Linked DNA regions of Homo sapiens: region 1 is linked to region 2. The links are contacts of gene promoters, found by promoter capture Hi-C in blood cells and fetal thymus (Javierre and others, 2016). All regions are on one chromosome and are shown on one strand. The core of a region is centred on a gene start or on the middle of the fragment in contact, and the rest is flanking DNA. Distances in the headings are between cores, read along the strand shown.

Region 1 (6,807 bases), core at 3,667-6,166, 56 kb after region 2:
TTTCCCAGGCTGCAGTCCTCAACCTTGACCCAAATAAAGTCTCTATATTAATTCTGCCTCATTTTCTTTCCTTAGGTTGACATTTCCAACCATACTGCTTCCTTTCTTTATAAATAATTCACACTTCATACTGTATAAGATCTACATGTTATTTTTGCTTCCTAGAATCTTCACACATCCTCTTCACTACATAATTTCCAATAATCATCTAACTCTCAGATCCAAAGTCAGTTCCTTGGGGAAGTTTTCTAGCTCCTGCATGATCTCCCTCCAAAGACTAGGTCAAATTCCCTGAGCTCTGAAAGGTGAGCACTCACTGTTCACCTCTCCTTCCTAGCATTTTCATAGTGATAATTTTATATTTATTTGCATGATTATCTGATTAATCTGTCTTCCTTTCTAGACTGTCAGTAGTGCAGAGACTGTGTCTATTTTGTTTATCCTTGCATCAGAAATTCCTGATATTATGCCTTACATATAGCAGATACACCATGATTATTTGTTGAGGGAATGGAGAAATACTGTACATACACATATGTTGTCAGGTTTATCATTCCAGCCCTGGGTTTAGTACAGCATATGCATAACACACACTACACCTAAATAATTAGTTTGGTGAATAAGTAAATGTTAAACATTTTAGTCTAAGAGCCAAAGAAGCTCTATTAAATAGAAGGCTACAAGACAACTTTAAAAAAAGATATATATTTCCACTGCCTTGAAGTTTCCTTCTAAATCTGACTCTTTGGTTTACAAAGTTAGGGTTTTTTGTTTTTCAGAGAGAATCTCATTCTGTCTCCCAGGCTGGAGTGCATCTGGTATGAACACAGCTCACAGCAGTGTCAACCTTCTTGGCTCAAGTGATGCTCCTGCCTCAGGCCTCTGAGTAGCTGGGACTACAGGTGCATGCCACCATGCCTGGCTAATTTTTTATGTTCCATACAGACAGAGTCTCGTCAAATTTCTTGGATGGTTTGGAACTCCTGGGCTCAAGCGATCCTTCCGTCTCAGCCTCCCAAAGTGCATATTCCATTTTGATGAAATACTGTAATGCTGATAATTTGTAAGGATGCATTTACCATCCAATCAGAAAGATTACAACATGATAGATGACTGCTTTGGAAAATGCTGCTACTTAATGATATGTGATAAAAATGCTTTTAGACATTTGGAATCTAAGACATGTACTAAACTACATTCAGCACTCGATGTCAAGCACAGGAAAAGAAAATTCAAAGATCTTCAGCATAGGAGTGTGAAAGATCCATATCCTTAAGATATCCTCAAAAGCCAGGAATTACTCATAGTAAGAAGGTCATAATTAAAAATTTCCCTTGTATACCAGGACAATGATTAACTGAAGAGCTATACTTTATGGAAAAATAGACGAATACCAGCACATGCTAAACTAATGGCCTCCATCTTTTCATATTACCACTTCATGGTGCATATGTCCTGCCCTTTGCTTCAAAATACACTATGGAGCCAAGGAAACTAAGTTCAAGGAATAGCAGCAAATAGGGACTTATTCAACATACAATTTAAAACTATTGTTTTAAGTCAGTGGTTTCTAACATTTCCCCCACATTCACACCATTCTCAAATTAAACTACTTAAGTAAAAGTAGAAATAAACTCTGAAGAAAATTAGAATGTGCATTCTCACAGAGATTATGATAGTTTCCTAGGTGTCCCCCTCCACCCATAAAACTATACACAAATGCCCACACCCACTAAACTGGGTTGAATAGTGTCTCCTCAAAGCTCATGTCTACCCAGAACCTCAGAATGTAACATTATTTGGAAATACTTGGCAAATGTGATTAGTTAAGATGAGGACACACTGGATGAGGATGAGCCCTAAATCAAATCAGTGATTTCCTTACAAGAAGAGACACACAAAGAATGCCATGTAAAGATAGAGGCAGAGTTTGGAGTGATGTGTGTATGTCTTACAAGGAAAGTCAAGGAACTGCAGGCAACCACCAGAAGCTAGGAAGAGGCAAAGAAGGATTCCCTAGAACCTTCACAGGAAGTATGATCTTGACACCTTAATTTTGAACTTCTAGCCTCCAGAACTGTGTAATAAGAAACACCTGTTATTTTAAGCCACAAAATTAGTGGCTTAAAATACAGCGGCCCTAGGAAACTAATATATCCATAAACATATGCACCTAAGAATCATAGTTATTGCATGACTTGTAATCTCTATTTCAAGTTTCTCCTTTTCCAGTTGGAAGTCCTTTGATGAATTCAACCTATTGTAACTAAGGTAGGCAGCAACCTTTTCCATACTTTCCCTACTACACAAAGTCCTGCCAATATCTGAATTTATTACCTCCTTTATCCTTGATAGTACTGGGAGATACGAATGCATCACATATTCAGATAACCCAATGGCATTTAGGATGGCAGTAATCAAATTTGGGTGGATCACGAGGTTAGGAGATCGAGACCATCCTGGCTAACACGGTGAAACCCCGTCTCTACTAAACATACAAAAAAATTAGCCGGGCGAGGTGGTGGGCATCTGTAGTCCCAGCTACTTGGGAGGCTGAGGCAGGAAAATGGCATGAACCCGGGAGGCAGAGCTTGCAGTGAGCCGAGATCATGCCACTGCACTCCAGCCCTGGGCGACAGAGTGAGACTCCATCTCAAAAAAAAAAAAAAAAAAAAGTAAGAAACTAATAAAAAATAAGACTTAAACTTAATAGGAGGATTATTTATCCTCCAATTGGCAAAAGTAAATACCTCTCTCAAATGATCAAATAGATCAAGATCTGGCATTGCCTGGTATAGAGAAAACAGTTCCTAGACCATTTCCCTTACTCTGGGTAATAAGTAGAGAAACTACATCTCTTACTCAAAAATGGAAGTCTCTTCAACTCTAACAATAAGAAAATGTGTTGTAGTACACTGTAAAATGACATTCTTTAAAAATAAGATGTAGTATCTAAAAAAATTAAGGCTGGGCGCAGTGGCTCATGCCTGTAATCCCAGCACTTTGGGAGGCCGACACAAGCAGATTGCCTGAGGTCAGGAGTTCGAGACCAGCCTGGCCAGCATGGTGAAACCCCGTCTCTACTAAAAATACAAAAATTTGCCAGGTGTGATGGCGGGCACCTGTAATCCTAGCTGTTCAGGAGGCTGAAGCAGGAAAATCGCTTGAACCCAGGAAATGGAGGTTGCAGTGAGCCGAGATCGCACCACTGCACTCCAGTCTGGGCAACAAGAGCGAGACTCCGTCTTAGAAAGAAAAATTAAGATCCATCTTACTGTAGGTACTGAAGTGGGAAATAACTATTTTAAGTATAAAAAGCTTCAGATATAATATTAACTGAAAAAGATATAAAATTACTTCTAATAGATCTAAACTATGAAAAGACTATATTAAAAAGATGGCAAGAAAATATACTCTGAGCAATATAGTGATTTCTTTTTTTTTTCTCTCTCTTTTTTGAGACACAGTCTCACTTTGTCGCCAGGCTGGAGTGCATTGGCACGATCTCGGCTCACTGCAACCTCCGGCTCCCAGGATCAAGCAATTCTCCTGCCTCAGCCTCCCAAGTAGCTGGGACTACAGGTATGTGCCACCACGCCGAGGTAATTTTTGTTTTTAGTAGAGATGGGGTTTCACCATGTTGGCCAGGATGGTCTCGATCTCTTGACCTCATGATCCACCCGCCTCGGCCTCCCAAAGTGCTGGGATTACAGGCATAAGCCACCATGCCCAGCCTTTTTTTTTCTCTTTTATTAGGATGTCTAATACATTTTGAAATGGCTATTGAAAATAAAAGAGACTTAGGAGACATAATAACCAAATGTAATTTATGGACTTCGGATACAGGTTTTAACAAATTAATCATAAAAAGATAATTTTGAGACAAGCAGAAATTTGAATATGGATAGAGAATTTCAAGACTAACAAATTATGGTTAACAGTATTAAATGTGATAATAAAGTGGTAGGTATGTTAAAAGGCTTATCAATGAAATATAAAGAACTATTTATAGTTAAAATAACAATCACTAGAAACTGCTTTACAAATGCCTAGAAAAAGAAAGTGTGTCAGGAAAAGGAATAACAAAAGAATTAGCAAAATTTTGAAAACTGTTAAAGCTGAGAATATGTGGGTTCACTTTACTATGCTTTCTATATGTCTGAAGTTTTCCACAATAAGAGTAGATGGGGGAAAATACCAATTATTACAGAACTATCTGTCATTCTTATCTCTGGCTCTTAACTTAAAGTGGGACTTTTTAACACATAAAGGCAAAGAGACGAGGAAACCAATATGATAGCCATACTTTTCTACCTGATAATTGAGACATAAAGTTTGTCAAATATTTGTCTGATCTGAGGCACTTACAGATAATTTCTATTTTATATTTTAAGGAAAACAAAAATACAAAAAAACTTGAATAAAAGCTGAAATATTTTTCAAAATCCCATCTTCTCAACAGAAATATAGTTTTCATTTATACCCTTCACATCTTTTTTCTATAAAATCATACTGTACTATAATTTTAGTGTCCGCATTTTTCCACTTAATATTTCAATATAAGCATGTTTCCATATGATTATATATTTTCTACATACATAATTTTGTATAGTTACATGATATTAGATCTAGTGGTTGTACCACAATTTATTAATATATTCACTTATATAATATTAGGTTTTAGGCTTATATTAGAGTTATAAAGGAAAAAGTAAACTATGTATATATTTATTGTAATTAAATATTTATTAATAATTATTATATATAATATTGTCATTCACAGGAATCCAAAATTATACTGAAAACATCAACTTAGAATATGCTTCTAACAAACAATGTTTTCTCATAATTGAGAAGTGACTATTGAAAATATTGAGGGTAAAAAATTTACTTTTTATGTGATTAGTTTGCCAGCCTAACTGCAGTTTTTCAATTATGATATCCAATTAAGAAAGGATAGTTGCATGTCACATGAGATAATTATCATTAGTAGAAATAAATAGCATGGCAATAATTCATCGGAATTTAATTTCATGTCATATTCTGGGACTCATTAAAGCAAAAACAAAACAAACAATGACAAAAATCTAGACACTATTTCAAGTAGGAATTCACTTTCTCAAAGATAATACCCCATGGGATAAACAAGGATTAATTTATAACATTTTATCTTCATTTTAGAGTATGAGATCTGAAAACCAAAAACTATCCCTATGATAATAAAATGTAATGCTTCATTTGTTTGAAGACTCAATCTTCTTAGTTGCACAGTTCCTGGTGAGTCATCTGAGACCATACTGCCAAGATTAATAAAGCTAAAAAAAAAAAAAACTCTTGACACTTTTCTAGGCGATATTGTTATTAAATAAAAGATAGGAGTTAGTAATCAATAAATAGCAAGTGTGCAAACATGCCCTGGGAAATAATTAACCAGGTAAGTTTACTTTAAATGCACTGTGAGGACAGATCATTACCATTAATACTTAAAATTATGAAGAATTCATATTTAAGTATGAGTTAATACTTAAATACTTAAGAGAATTATATCAAACAAAAGTTCTATATGATCCACAAAAATTAGTATATAGAATGAGGCTAACCTTTAAAAATTAAAAATTTAAATTTCTTCTAACCTAATTATATACAAGAATTATGATATAATGTGATATAAAGCTATAATAAGCATGCTTTATTAGAAGAACTGTAACATTTCATTTATGAGTTTCCTTATCTGGCAACATCAACTATATATATAGAATGTAGCTGAAATGTTTAAAAGGCCTTTAAATAACAAAAAGAGATCTCAGTAAGTTTATGCATGAAAGTTCACTCCTGTTCCTTTTTTTATTTTTTATTTTATTTTTTTTTTTTTGAGACAGGATCTTGCTCTGTCACCTAGGCTGGAGTGCAGTGGCATGGTCACGGCTCACTGCAGCCCTGACCTCCTGGGACCAAGCAATCCTCCCACCTCAGCGTCCCAAGCAGCTGAGACCACATGCATCAACACATCTGGCTCACTTTTTTAATTTTTGTAGACATGGAGTCTTCCTATGTTGCCCAAGCTGGATTTGAACTGCTGGTGATCCTCCTGCATCAGCCTCTCAAATTATTGGAATTAACAGGCATGAGCCATCATGCCTGGCCATCCTCTTGTTGCTTTTAAGAGAGGCCTTCTCTCTTACAGATTTTTTTAAATATCTCTTATTACAGAGACATCTATGTCATCTATCACATTGGTTATCTGATTTTCTAGTCCAGAGTCAAATTAGGAAGAGAAGCAGAACTGCAGGAGACAGCCACGAAAGCAACAAATAGAATATCAATCTGACTATAGGGAAGAAAAAATACGTTAAGTACAAAATATTCCTTATGAATGCTGAGTATGGGCAAGAAATCATGAACAACATTTCATTCATTCAACAAATATTAATTCATGCCCATGATGTGACTCTCTGATCCAAGTACTAAGGAAAACAACAGTTCAGTAAGATAGACCAAAAAATTCTTACTCTCCTGAAGCTTATGTTCAAGTCCAGGAAGACAGATAATAAGCACGTAAAAAATTAACAAAATAACATCACATTTGTTACCTCATTTGATCTTCACAACACAACCCAGAAAACAGGCTGTTCTCATTCTATCTAATTCAGATTGCCGTGCAGGATCAATACTACCAATTGGTCAATTTGGGATTGAACCGTGATCTAATTCCAAAGTAATATTCTTAACAATAAAAATTTTCTTCATAGCACTTGATCAAGGTTTAAAATTATACATTTGTGTGATCATTTAGGTGGTGTCATTTTT
Region 2 (6,783 bases), core at 1-2,500:
GATACTATATAACACTTAAGGCACGAGTAATTTTTTTTTCACCGTTTCCCCTCCATGGCTATGAAGGAACTGGGAGAAGGATGCTCCTTTCATTAATTAAAATTCTTCACTTTGAAAATTTAAGTTTATTAGGGAAGGAAGGAAGAAAAATATGAAGATGTAAGTATACATACCTTGGAGTAAGTATTTCCTTATATTGGAGTTTCTCTAATTTAGCTGGGGCTACTAATGACATGGGAATCACAATGTTATCTATGTCATAAGAGCTCTCACTTCTCAATCTCCGTCGTGCAGTATTCTGCAAAACAGGATTACAGTAGATTTACAGTACTGTCTAGTTACTTGTAATGATACCCTCCTTTCATCAGTTATGTAAATATGGCAGTACACGTTACATAATTTTTGTAAATACATTGTTATAAAGTCTGACTAAAAAATGTTAAGAAAACCAAAAAATAAAACATTTTTCTATCTTTTGTAAATCAGAACAATCTCTTGGTAGATGTGTAATGTGTATTTATGTGTGCAAGCATACAAGCTTATTTTTAAGACCACAAAAAATAGGTCTTAAATGCAAAACTCTTTATCAGAAAAGACCAACATACATCACCCTAAATGTCAATGAAAATGATCAGTAACCACTTTTTATTAGGAAAGGCAGTGAAACATTTTTGGTCAGCCCTTCAGTATACTCTTCATTTATGCATTCCTGGTTCCTGAGTTTCGGAATTCATTTCTAAACCCTCCCACCTTTTGACCTCTCTATTCCCTGGCCAGATAACAAAAAAACAAACAAACAAACAAAAAACAGGACAAGAACAAGAAAGTCCTGAATTCTCATTAGTAAGACTTTATTTAGCTTAATATGTTAAGGAATAGAGATGATCATGATAATGTTTAAATTTTTAACACATAAAAAGAAGCTATAACCAAATATTAATGAACTTTTAGCTTCATAGTTAAAAATAAGTTGTATGAATCAAATATATTGTTTTCTAACAAGATAGTTATAAATGTCTGTTAATATGTGCTAGTAAGGCTGTTATAGATTAGCAAAATATAAATTATTTTCAAAATCAGGTGTTTTTATTTTTAAAGCTATTTTAGAGTTCAACATATGGAAAAACCTACTCGTGATGAATTCTGGATTCTTGATAAAACGTTGACATTGGAAACAGCAGTAAAATTGCTATGGGATCCTGATTCTGTGTGTTGAAAATCAGATTCTTCAAGTTTAGTTCTTTCTCCTGCCATGGAAAGAACCATTGAATGTTACACATTAAACAAGTCTAATATCATTAGAATTACTTTCCTAATTAGATGACAGGTGATTGATTCCTTGTTTTGTGTGTGTGTGTTTAAATTCGTGTATTAGAAAACAAAAAAGGAAATGAAAAAAGAGGAGCCTTACTTGCAGTCATGCCACAAGTTATTTCCATTTTCTGGGGCTTTGGCAGTTTTTATCGAATATATTTCTTATTGTTCCCTGAATAATCCCTCATCTCATCCCTTTATTCTTGTTTCCTGTGACTCCTATTCATAGTTGAACCACCAGAACTATCTTAATTTTCTTATCTAATCTCATTTTTCATATCTGACTTTTTATCCTAATTTATGTGAGGTATCTGTCCTTGGTCTTCTGAACACTCTTAATTTTTTGAAAAAATTCTGCTATTATAAGTACATGTTTCCGAAAGTACTTGTTCTCTGGTACTCTTTTTTTAAAACAGCATCCTGTTCTTGTTTCATAGATGAAATTTCTCATATCTCTCAGGATATTGATTAGAAGTTTACTTCTGTTAGTATTTTCTGTATATCTTCCAAGTTCTTTTTTTTTTTTTTTCCTGTTTTGGTTCCCAGTTACTGTGTGTGTGTGTGTGTGTAGTAAATATATATATGTATGCGTTTACTTACTGCCCTTATTTTAGTACAAGTGTTTTAAAATGAGAATATTTCCTGCATAATATAAAATCTAATACCCAGTCCATATTTAAATATCTCCATTTGTTAAAAAAAAGTCCTTTATAGCTAGTTTCTTCAGATAAGGATCTATATATAAAAATTGGCCATTGTCTCCTAGGTTTCTTATAGTCTAGAATAAATCATTTTTCATTACATTGACTTTTGACAGGCTGGACCAGATGTCCTACCCTTTTGGAATTGTCTAGTTATTTATTTGTAGTATGACATTTCTTTATTTTATTCCTGTATGTACATCAAACTTGAAGTTAGATCTAAAGTGTCAGTCAATTTAAGTGAAACATTTTATATCTTAGGTAATGTATACTTCATGTTGCATCTTATTAGATGTTTTTAAAGCTTTATATATATATATAAGTTGAATCTTGTTGACTTTCTCAAAATCCTGAGGAATCTGCAGTGCATCAACATCTCCACAGTAGGTACCATAAATGGTTAACAGTTTCTGTAAGGCAACTTTGCACTAGCCTATTTTGAGCATAGAACACAACTTTGAAGATTAAATCCCATCCAGGGACTGATTGGTAGAAGACAACTAGTCAGGGAACATAGGAGGGAAATACTTAATTGCCATAAAGTGGGTAGATACCAGTCCACAAATAATTCTAAATTAACTACGAATATGCTGTTTCATGTTTGTAGACTCATAGATGTTTTGTGTTATTAGTGGCTGTTCTGGATTATAAACTCCCATGAGAGGTTATTTTAAAATCAGAATTTTTAATTTTTAATATTTATCACTACTGCTTATATCCTCACTTTAACCTACCTAATGCTGTTTCACTCAAATGTCTTTTCTTTCTTCCCTGTAACAGTTGTGCAGAAGATTCTGACCTTATTTGAGGCTTACATATAGGTGAATATCCATTTCTCCATTGATTCAGAGTACTATGTACTAAAACAAATGAAAAGGAAATATTAAGTTTTAGTTCCTTAACACAGACAGTGAACATGTCAATCTGTTTTTATTTGTAACTGCAGAATTTTAAGATACCAGTTCAAAATTACAGATAAACATAAATACCAAGACACACAACTCCAACTAAAAACATCCCCAGGAATTTCCAGTTTCTTATATTTTCTCCATTTTTTTGAGGGGGATGAAAAGGGAAGATGATCTGTTCTCAAAGTCTTCCAAATTACAGAAACTTGATAGAGTGAGGATTGGCTCAGATATATAAATCTTGGCGATCAGAATCTTTAAGTTCTTGCTTACCTTTAAATCTGGAAATAAGTTGGGACCAAGTAAGATTCAACATGGTCAGACTAGACTGTGCGAGCAAGAACCAGAATCATTTAATATCTCTGATGCCTTAGTTGCATCATCTGTAAAATAGGGATAATAGCAGCGACCTTGGATAATGATTACATGAGTTTATTCCTGTAGTAGTAAGTAAAAGTGTCTGATGTGATAAGTGTGCAGTAAATGTTAGCGTTATCATGATTGTATATCTGAACCCCCTTATTTCCAGCCTTGGTCTAACAACCAAATTGGCTTCTTTTTTTGAAAGGTTTGGAGATGTGGAAAGGAGTGGAAAAAGAAATATGTAAGCTGAAGTGCCAAACTCACACTGAAATAAAGGGCATGGCCTACCAGCTGACAAGGAGTGTCTGGTTTCAAGATGGCAAATGACCCTAAACATGATAGACAAATACGTTTTACATAGGTACATGCACAGATAGGCACATATAAATCCACATTTGCAAGCAAAAAGTGGAACCTGTAAAGCAGAATTTCTGAGGAATCTCTAAAAGACTAATACTATATGGAATTTGAAGAGGAAACCCAGAGCAGAAGCACATAGTGAAGTACTGCCACAAAGATGTGTGACGCCACTAAAGGTGCTCTAGACCCACAAGAAAGGAAAACTGGGAGCAGGACAACTATCTGGATATTGACTGCACATGCCAATATCTCAGTCAGACTAACAGAATCAGAGCTTTAGGCAGAGAAATGAATGGTTGGAGAGAGAAGGCAATGCCCAGGTGCCCTGCTTTGAAATGTCCCGCCCATCCCCAAATTAGTCTGAAAATTTCAAATGTTGTATAAATTCCCTTCCCATCAAAAGTGTCCCATAAACAGCAGTGGTAGAAGAGTTTTAACTGAGTATCACAGCTTCAATGATGAGTATAGAAAACTCCAAAAATCTGAATACCAACACAATCAAAAAAGAGGTACAAACCACAAGTGGAAGAACCATCTCAAGAAATAATGAAGCATTCATGGAATACAGATTAGCAACTCTTTAAAACAGTATTGCCAAGAGAAACAGGTAAGAGGCCCTCTGGAGAAATGTCAGAAATAGAAAATGTAATTGTTCAAATGTTAAAATCATCACTAGGCTAAGAAACAGAATGGACACAGCTGAAAATCAAAATCAGGGTCTGGAAGAGGAATTCCATAACTTGATGGAACAGAGTGATAGAAAATATGGAGGGAAAAAGACCGCAATGGGGTAACAAGATGAGACTAGAAAGAGTGAAAAGGAGGGAATAGTTGAAGAAGTGATAGCTGAAGTGTTTTCCAGAATCAATATTAAACCCTAAGATTTCAACGATGCACTTGCATGTCAAACAGCAAATGAAAAATCATAAATGCATCACAGATGATAATACCCTGAAAGTTATTAATACAAGAAAACAGCATGGCAGGAGTAATCTAAACGTACTAAAATGGTAACTAGAATTGTGAGAGGTGGATTTTAAAATGTATGTGTGTGTTAAAACGTGTGTAGGTGTTAAAAGTGTCCATTCTTTTAATAACATTTTGCTGTAGCATTTAAGCAAATCATAGACAATTAACGTTTCTCTTATTTTCTACAAGCAATTCTCCACTCTTCTGAAAACATCAAATTTTGTGAAGGAATCAACTTTCACAAAAGTTGATTTTTTTTTTGAGACGGAGTCTCGCTCTGTCTCCCAGGCTGGAGTGCAGTGGCGCGATCTCGGCTCACTGCAAACTCCGCCTCCCGGGTTCACGCCATTCTCCTGCCTCAGCCTCCCGAGTAGCTGGGACTACAGGTGGCTGCCACCACGCCCGGCTATTTTTTTTTTTTTTTTGTATTTTTAGTAGAGACGGGGTTTCACCGTGTTATCCAGGATGGTCTCGATCTCCTCACCTCGTGATCCGCCCGCCTCAGCCTCCCAAAGTGCTGGGATTACAGGCGTGAGCCACCGCGCCCGGCCAAAAGTTGATTTTTAAATTAAATTTTATTCAAATGTTTTTTTCACATTTATTTTCCTTCTAATTCGTTACTGTCTTGTAAGGTTTTCATGGACCCTTGAAACCGTAGGAAATGTATGACAATTCTACACATCCTCTTCACCTGTTCTATTGATAAACCTCCCAGCCTTTCAGTTCTTGCTCTCCCAATCCTCTCCTAGAGTTCATCCTAAGATCACACTTTCATAGCATTTCTCATATATCCTGTCTTTACTTCCTTCCCTTTTATTCATCCAACAACAACTTTACAGAGAACCAATTACATGGCAAGCATTATTCTAAACCCTAGGTAAGCAAAACTAGGATTTGTAGCAGCCCTTGTCGTTTACAGGTGTTAAGGAATGCAATTGTAATGTGATAGGAAAATATTCATTTCAGTTGTGAAACTACATGATGTTACTGAGAATGTATAAGAGTGCTAGTAAGAGCTCTAGGAAAGGCTTCCCCAGATGAAGTGACAGACTCCAAATATGAACAGAAATAGCTGATAGCTAGGGGAAGGAGGAGAATAGCATGTACAATGGCCCAAGGGAACAGGACAAATTTGGGAACTGAACAGCTATGTACTGTAGAGTAAGGAAGCATGGTGAGAAAGAATCATGAGGGAGGAGCCAGCCTATGTAGATAGGGCTTTAAGGTGTTAAGAATATTCCTTCTCGAATGATTTAAAGGGATGGGGTGGGGAGCAGGTGTGACATTAGATTTGCATTTTGAGGAGGTCACTGCCTACAGTGATTAAAGGGAAAAATGGATTAAAAGTCTATTTCAGCAGTATAGATAAGAGATCATGTTGGACTGTGAGAGTAGTCGAAGGCACAAAAGGAACTCAAACACATAAGATCATATTGACAACTTGGCAATTGGTTTAGACCAAGTTGGAGGAAGTGTGGGTGACAAAGACTGAGCTCTATGTTTCTGGCTTGCTTGTGTGGGTTATGGTGCTATTGTTCCTCCTCTTCCATCTATCTGAGACCTAATTTCAGAATTACAGAAAACTTGAAATAGAACAAAAAATTTCTGTATACCCTTTTCTGAAATCCCCCAAATGTTAACATCGTATCACATTTGCTTTACCTCCTTCTTTCAGACCACAAATGAAATTTAGTTGCTGACATGATGCCCCTTTAGCCCTAAATACATCAATGTGTATTTCTCAAAACAAAGGACATTCTCTTATGTAGCCATGCAGTTCAGTACCATTAGCTAATCTATAGACCTTATTCAGATTTCACCAATATCTCTATAATGTTATTTACAGATAATTTCAACTATTCATTGCAGATGGCATTGCAGTTGTCAGATCTCATTAAGGTCTTATATCTGAAACAGTTCCACTGTCTTCCATAACTTTCATAACTTTGAACATTTTGGTAAGTATAAACCCTTAAATTGGTTTTGTCTGGTATTCCTCATGATTAAACTAGTCATCCATTCACTTTTCAACCCACTACAGTTTGGCTTTTCTCTGCTTGTTGCCTGAAATCAGCAATGCCATTGTAAACTGCCAAATCTAATGGACCATACAGGATAAATCCAAGCAAAGATCTGTCTACTGCCTTCACACAACTTACCCTACAGGA

The links. Contacts are between HindIII fragments. The CHiCAGO score rates a contact against its expected background, and 5 or more counts as called.
Region 1: a contact is called between a fragment that was not itself captured here and the fragment with the promoter of KANSL1L-AS1 in region 2, in 1 of 17 cell types (neutrophils). The highest score is 6.4, in neutrophils.

The regions. Positions count from the first base shown.
Region 1 is chr2:210,081,175-210,087,981 of GRCh38, forward strand. All of the region lies in intron 5 of KANSL1L (KAT8 regulatory NSL complex subunit 1 like), which reads right to left. Among named protein-coding and RNA genes, the nearest start is that of KANSL1L-AS1, 55 kb to the left of the region's middle. The HindIII fragment of the contact is 3,201 bases long and covers 3,317-6,517 here.
Region 2 is chr2:210,028,672-210,035,454 of GRCh38, forward strand. KANSL1L-AS1 (KANSL1L antisense RNA 1) reads left to right here and starts at 1,251. Exons shown (of 5, transcript NR_110291.1): 1 at 1,251-1,327; 2 at 2,796-2,836; 3 at 3,492-4,253; 4 at 6,485-6,573. KANSL1L (KAT8 regulatory NSL complex subunit 1 like) reads right to left here. Exons shown (of 15, transcript NM_152519.4): 9 at 2,750-2,875; 10 at 1,132-1,247; 11 at 174-298. The HindIII fragment of the contact is 1,781 bases long and covers 537-2,317 here.